Linked DNA regions of Homo sapiens: region 1 is linked to region 2. The links are contacts of gene promoters, found by promoter capture Hi-C in blood cells and fetal thymus (Javierre and others, 2016). All regions are on one chromosome and are shown on one strand. Each heading gives the region's core, a stretch centred on a gene start or on the middle of the fragment in contact. The rest is flanking DNA. Distances are from core to core; before and after follow the strand shown.

Region 1 (3,755 bases), core at 216-2,715, 1.8 Mb after region 2:
GAAAATAGTTGCCTTGGGGTGGTGGTGGATTGTCTGGAAAACTGGCACAAAATAACTTTCTGGAGCAATGAAAATGTTCTAGATCTTGACTGGGTGGTATATACAACTGCTAAATGTCATCAAGTTGCTAAATGACATTTATCAACTGCTAAATGTCACCTAAGTCTGTGGAATTTACTGTATGCAAATTATACCTCAATTTTTAAAAATTACAAAGGACTAACATTAAAGTTTGTGCCACAGTTTAATCGTTCCTCTAATGTTGTGCACTATTTTCCCATTTTTTCACAATCACAAATTATGATACAATGACTATCTTTTGTGCATATGTGAAATTACCAATATTAAGCATTTTGACCCATAAAAATGACAAGTTTGTATAGTCAAACCTAGTAGATATTTAATATTTTGGATTATTCCCATTATCCCCATTTTTAGTTAGGTGACTTGAGAAAAGTTTACAAATTTTTGTTGATACTCATTGCTAAACTGCTTTTTCTACCAATTTTATAAATGTATACTCCTTTTACAAAAGTGTCTTAGGTTGGTGCAAAAGTAATTGCGGTTTTTGCCATTACTTGCAATGGCAAAAGCCGCAACTACTTTTGCACCAACCTATGACTTGAATCCTGTTTTTCAGTTCTTCAAATTTTGATAGACACTTATCTTGCACATCCATATGCACGCTCCTCTCTTCCCAGCACTTTGTACATCTCTCATGGCTCATAACACATTCTTCCATCACGTATGTGTACACATATGGCTGTATAGGAAAACAGCTTCTGGAGGATAAGAACAATTTGTTTTGCGGTTTTTTATTTTTAATAAAATCTCCTAGCTTGGTGCCTTATGCATTTCATTTATTTATTCAACTAACATCTTCCAAATTCACATAAGGGACCAGTTATCTGTGAATGGTGTAACAGGCCTTCAAAAAGTCCACGAAACTAAACATTACCAGTTTCAAATATACCCGACAGGTCTCATTTTAACATTCATGCCCCACGTTTTAAGTTCCCAGATTGCTACCTTCCCATGTTTTTGGTGCTCTAATCTGGAAACAAAAACTCTGAAAATTTAGTTTTGAATGTATTATGTGAGGGCCTTTCCCTGGGCCCTGCTAATAATTCCTTAAAATGCTCCCCAGAACCACATGTTTGGGGACTTAGGATAATCAGTGAAATCTAGGGCAGCCTGTCGGTCTGAGACTTTTCACAGGACTCTGAAGGGCACCGGGGTAATTCCTTTTTAAGGACAGCAGTGCAGTGAAAATGCAAATCGTGACAGCAACAAGCTCCTTCCAGTTCCGGAGTGCCCGCAGGCTCCTCCCGGTCGCCGCCGTCGCCTAGCGAATGGGGTGGGGGCTCGCACGGTCCCCGCATCTCGGAGCGCCACGGCGGGCTCCTGCCGCCCCGCCCCACCCCACCCCCGGCGCGCGTCCCGAGCCCCGCCCGCGCGCCCGGCAGGAAAGGGCGGTCCTGCGCTGTGGCCCACGCTCGCTCCCGCTGTCGGACTCTGGGCCTGGACCGCGCGTGGCCGGCGCCAAAAGCGAGAGGCATGAGCGCGCGCCCGGGCCAGTGAACTGCTCGGGGATGGACTGCGGCTCGGTCGGCGGCCAGAGGACCCAGCGCCTGCCCGGCCGCCAGCGGCTTCTCTTCTTGCCCGTGGGCCTCAGCGGAAGACCGGGCGGCAGCGAAACCTCAGCACGCCGCTGCCTCTCTGCGCTCTCCGACGGTCTGGGGGCGCTGCGCCCTCGCGCCCCGGCGGCCCGCGGCGGCGTGTCACGTGCCTCACCGCTGCTCCTCCTCCTGCTAGTGCCCTCCCCGCGCTTGGCCGCCGCAGCCCCGCGCCGGCAGCTCGGGGACTGGGAGCGCTCGCGCCTCGGGTATGCCGCACCCCCGGCCGGGCGCAGCAGCGCGTGGAGGTGCTCACCGGGCGTCGCCGCTGCCGCCGGCGCCCTTCCCCAGTACCACGGCCCGGCGCCTGCACTCGTTTCCTGCAGGAGAGGTGAGGCCCGGGCGGGAGAGGAGAGGGGGCTCGTCTCGCGGGGTTGGACGGCGGGGCGGGGATCTCAGCTACAGCCTCCCCGAGGAAAGGCCCGGCAGGCCGGAGGGCGGGTCCTCCAAGGCCACCGGCATCTGCCCGGAGCGTGGGTCGAAGGTCCGGGCCCGCCCTGCTCGGCCGCGGTGGCGGGGCTTAGCCCAGAAGAGACGAATTCCTGGGAATCCCGGGCGCTAAAGTTGGAGGGAGGTGCGTGCTGGGGCGGGGAGTTGGTGCCCGCCCACTCCTAGGGTCTGCTTTTGGGCGCCGCCTTCCAGGAGTTCTGTTTGGCAGCGCCCAGCCTGTTGGGCGTTCAAGGGGAAGGGGTGTGTATGTTTGAGCAGCAAAGCTCTGGGAAATGAAGGGATTGCTTTACAGTTTGATTTCAAATTCTGATGGAATCATTAATTCGTGGAGTCCTAGCGTCTGCCCTGTCCCTGGCGCTTTTCTAGATGTGTGAGATATATCAGTCCACAAAATCTTCCCTCTGGAGCTTAATTCTAGCAGAGCAGACGCAGTAAATATGTGTGTGTGGATATACGTATGCATAATTGATGTATATATAATTTATATATACAAATAATTTTTATATATTCGTAATTCGATGCCTGGTATAGAAAAATAGGATAAGGCTTGGGAAGTGGAATGGGTCTCCAGTTGTGAATTTAAATAGGGTGATCAGAATCGATTTCATTGAGAAGGTAGCATTTAATTAGAGTCATGCATCTCTTCAGGACAGTCGCCTACTGAGAAATGAGTCATTAGGCGACTTCTTCCTTGTGTGAATATTGTAGAGTGTGCTTACACAAACCTGGATGCTACAGCCTACTACACACCTAGACTATCAGGTAGAGGCTAGTGCTCCTAGGCTACAAACCTGAACAGCATGTTACCGTACTGAATACTAGAGGCAATCTGAACACAATGGTATTTGCGCATCTAAATGTAGAAAAGGTAGAGTAAAAATATGTATTATAGTCTCATAGACCACTGTCGTGTGTGCCCCTCTGTCCTGGGCTGAAAGGTAGTTGTGGGGCTCATGACTATTTAAAGGAGGTGAGAGAGATCACTGCCCTGGAGATGAGGAAAGTAAATAGAATCAATTTATTAGATAGCATATTGTTGATTAAAGAAAAAAATCATTTCTGATAATCAACAGACTTGGCAAAATTATCACTTTGGGCAGTCTATACATATTCATTAGTAGCCATCACTAACTACACATTTTTCATATTTTCTTCAACAGATAGGCCCACTAAATGTTGACCATATCTATAATTTAAGAATATCATTGGCTGGGGTAAAAACTGATTAGTAGAGCAATAAAGTGAAGGAAACTTTATATACAGAGAGTGGGGAATGAGTAGTGAACTCGGTGTCACTGTCCTTCAGTAATTAGGAGTCGGAGATGAGTTTGGTCTTTATTCTGTATTTTGCCTTTTGTTGCGCTTTTTCTGACAAGCTAGTAATTTCCAATTTGTTTTTCTCTCAATGCAAGAGTATAGGGCAAAAAGAGAGTGTTCTTTCTCACGGATTTGCTGACCAATCGGTAAGGTGGTACTGTTGTTTTAGTGTCAGCTATCTCATTCTTCAGTCATCATAAAAAATGAGTATGGATGCATAAAAACAGAAGAGAGCAGAGACACAGTTAAGGAAGCATGTATGCCCATTAACCAGCCAATGAGCGTTTCCCAACCATTTGTTTGCTTGGTGCC
Region 2 (3,513 bases), core at 1,014-3,513:
ATTATCAATTATGCAGTCCATAATCAGACTTCTTTTGTTCTTAGAAACGACTTTTTACAGTTGGTTTGTTCAAATCCAGATCAGATAAGTTTCACACATTAAATTTGGTTAAAGACCAATTTTTAAAACAGATGACTGTTAAAGAGCCACATGGGGAATCTTTTGTTGAATCTTCCAACAATTTTACTTTCTGTTCCCTGTAACACTCCTTTTTTCCCTTTCATTTCAAACCGGTTTTTTCTTTTTGTCGGTGGCGGGGAGGAGATGGGGTAGGGGGGCAGAGAAGAGAATTCCAAACTTGGCATATTACAATTAAGAAAGTAAAAGTTTGTTTTAGAAATAAATAGTTGAAATACCAACTTAGAGATTTGCTGGATCATATAATTAGAGTAGTCCAAAGAGGATCTTAGGAATTCCCTTTCACACTCAGCTGTATAGAATTCTCCTGAATCACTAAAAATAATGCGAGAATCATTTTGAGTATGAGGCACTGCTGTATATAACTAGGATAATTTTGCCTGAGATGTTCCAACTAAGTATTTTGATCAAACTTTATAGTGGAAATGGTAGAGCATGGCCATAAAAATTGTTTTCCCTAGGTTTTGCTTAATCTTGGTTTAAACCAGATTTACTAGTTTCCAGGATAAACTGAGAAATTTATATTAGACTTTTACACAATTTCCTAGACTTATCTAGAGAGGTATACTAATTACTTTTGTATTAAAGAGATTGCTGAATCTTTTGAATATTGCAGAGGAATTGATCTTGTCAATATTTTATTTTTTGAAAAAGATCATAGAGTAATATGAAACTCTTTGTATGACATTGGCATTCTAATTTGGTTTTAAAAAAATGCAGTTTATCAGAAGTCCCCATATGGTGCTTAATCAGACGTTATAGACAGAAAAGATGGAATCCTGTTTCAGAACCAGCATGCATAGTTGTGCAGATTGTATACTGTACCATGCATTAGTTGAGGCATTCATGCAAGAGTCAACTTGTGTATTAGGACAGTTTCTGGCTGATGGCAGTAAAGTGTCTGGAGGAAGGAGCAGCTATTTCTGTTTTTACAAAGACTTTGTAGGGGCTAGCAGTAGTACTGTGGCCTATATTTTCAGTTTCTATTTACAAATGAGTACTTGTTGAAGTGATTGAGAAGAATGTGTACATGATATCTCATTTTATGTGATATTACTGCATACTGTAGCACTCACTTATTGGCAACCTCAGTTATCTGTAACAGAGTCCACAGCCAAAATAAAGTAAAACTGGGCCAGTGAAGTGAAAATAAATTGTACAGTTTATGAACATCATATTTTACATTAAAAGAGTCTGTTAATTCTATATATGCAGCTCTAGCCCATTTATCTGTTTTCCAGTGCAATAATTTAAAAGCAGCAAGTAGAGGGGAGGAGACTGCTAGAATTAAATAGCTGGCAGAAGCAGTGAGTGAGAGCTGACATCCAGGTGACCAATGGTAGAGAAAGAAAATTTAGGAAAGGTAGACATAAGAGCCCAAACAAACACAAAACTACCATAGATTGGTTTCAGGTTAATAGATGAAGATGCATTTCTAGCTCAGAAGTATCAGGGGAGAGTACTGTTTTGCTGCAAAATGTAGTCAATGATATTCTTAATACTGATCCTGAGTCATCACAAAATGTTAAATGAGATATACAAAATCCTCTTTAATGAAAGAAGTTTGTAATATATTTTAAAAAGCTTTTTCTCAACTAAAATTTCAAATACTGTGGATGCTTAAAGAGATTTGAAGGCCTGGGTAGCATCTACTTAATGAAGTGTGCTGCTTAGATATCTTTGTTACCTATCGATTTCTCCTATGTGGAACATTACTTTTTCTAAAGATGCCAGATAAATTATGTTTTTGTGGTCTGATCACATTTAGGAATCTTGGTTTCTAAAAAAGGGGCTTGGGGTAAGTAAGAATATGAAAATAAGGCCTGGCGTGGTAGCACACACCTATAATCCCAGCTCTATGGGGAGGCTGAGGTGGGAAGATCACTTGAGGCCAGGAGATAGAGACCAGACTGGGCAACATAGTGAGACCAAAATAAAAGTGAAACAAATAGCTGGGCATGGTGGCACATACCTGTCATCCTTGTTACCCAGGAGGCTGAGGTGGGAAGATTGCTTGAGCCCAAGAGTTTGAGGTTACAGTAAGCTACAATCGCACCACTATACTCTAGCCTGGGCAACAGAGTGAGACCATCTCTTAAAAAAAAATTTGCTACAGATTTTCCGTTTGTAGTATCTAACATATAGTAAACACTCAAATATTTGTTGTCTTTTGAGGTACTTAATTCTTGCTTAAAAAAAAAAAAGTAGCTTATCTGACCTAAAATTTTAACATGTGAAAATTTGTGGTTGAAAAATCTCTGGGCTGGGTGGGGTGGCTCATGCCTGTAATCCCAGCATTTTGGGAGGCTGAGGCAGGAGGATCATTTGAGGCATGGGGTATGAGACCAGCTTGGGCAACATAGCAAGACTCCGTCTCCACTAAATAAAAAAAGAAATTACCCAGGCGTGGTGGCGGGTGACTATAGTCCCAGCTACTCAGGAGGATGAGGTGGGAGGATCACTTGGGCCCAGGATTGAGGCTGCAGTGAGTAATGTACATGTCACTGCACTCCAGCCTGGACGACAGAGTGAGACCCTGTCTCAAAAAAATAATAATAATCTCTTGACTTGTAAAAATATTATATTTTATATTGAATTATAGGCTGAAGACTTTAAGTGACAAGTCAAGAGAAGCAAAAGTGAAAAGCAAACCCAGGTAAGCTTGTGCTAAGATTTTAACTTAACTGTGACTTAAATTTCATACAACTTTTGGTGTATTCACAATTGTGTAGTTATATTAATGAACCTTAGATTTGTTGAGTGCATCTGACTACAAAATAATTTATCGATTCTTTCTAAATTTTGTAACAGGAAAATTTTCTAATAAAATCGTGAAATGGTTGAAAAAATGGTGAAGTATAATTGTTTTACTCTGACAGTCAATGAGTATTATTTGATCACAATTAGTCATTTTTAATTTGTATAAGAGCAAAAGTAAAAGTCCTGAATTATTGAAAAGCAAATTAATGATGAAATACTACTTGGCAAATGAGCCTCTTCAGCTATGTTACCTGTTTTGTATGAAAACACCAGGATTGTGCTGTTTGTCCATTTTTTTAATAAAGTAAAGCATGTGACCAGATTTCATTTTCAACCTAGAAATGAACTGTGATCTTACATATTTGTTCTTATCCAACATTATATTAAATAATTTATTGTATGCTGAAGAGAATCTCTGGGGCAAAATGATGGTTGATAGTGTGTTACATACAGTACATTAACTCTGAAATAAAACACATTTCTCTAAAAGTTTAATAATTGTCATTAGTGATTTTAAAATATATTACAATTGACAATGTCAAAATTCTTGTATGTACCTTTTTTTTTTTTTCAGTTGGCTAAATCAAGAACAGTTTTAATAAGTGTTTCTTTTGG

The links. Contacts are between HindIII fragments. The CHiCAGO score rates a contact against its expected background, and 5 or more counts as called.
Region 1: the fragment with the promoter of MCUR1 here is called in contact with a fragment that was not itself captured in region 2 in 1 of 17 cell types (total B cells); the score reaches 5.5 in total B cells.

What each region holds. Positions count from the first base shown.
Region 1 is chr6:13,812,267-13,816,021 of GRCh38, reverse strand. It overlaps MCUR1 (mitochondrial calcium uniporter regulator 1), which reads left to right and starts at 1,465. Exons shown (of 9, transcript NM_001031713.4): 1 at 1,465-2,007. The coding sequence starts at 1,593. It overlaps LOC107986571 (a long non-coding RNA gene), which reads right to left and starts at 2,212. Exons shown (of 2, transcript XR_001743986.3): 1 at 1,933-2,212. RefSeq lists an enhancer at 998-1,097 and silencers at 1,258-1,527, 1,608-2,277. The HindIII fragment of the contact is 5,544 bases long and covers 1-3,755 here.
Region 2 is chr6:15,651,368-15,654,880 of GRCh38, reverse strand. It overlaps DTNBP1 (dystrobrevin binding protein 1), which reads left to right. Exons shown (of 10, transcript NM_032122.5): 2 at 2,741-2,794. Among named protein-coding and RNA genes, the nearest start is that of DTNBP1, 9.9 kb to the left of the region's middle. The HindIII fragment of the contact is 1,077 bases long and covers 1,725-2,801 here.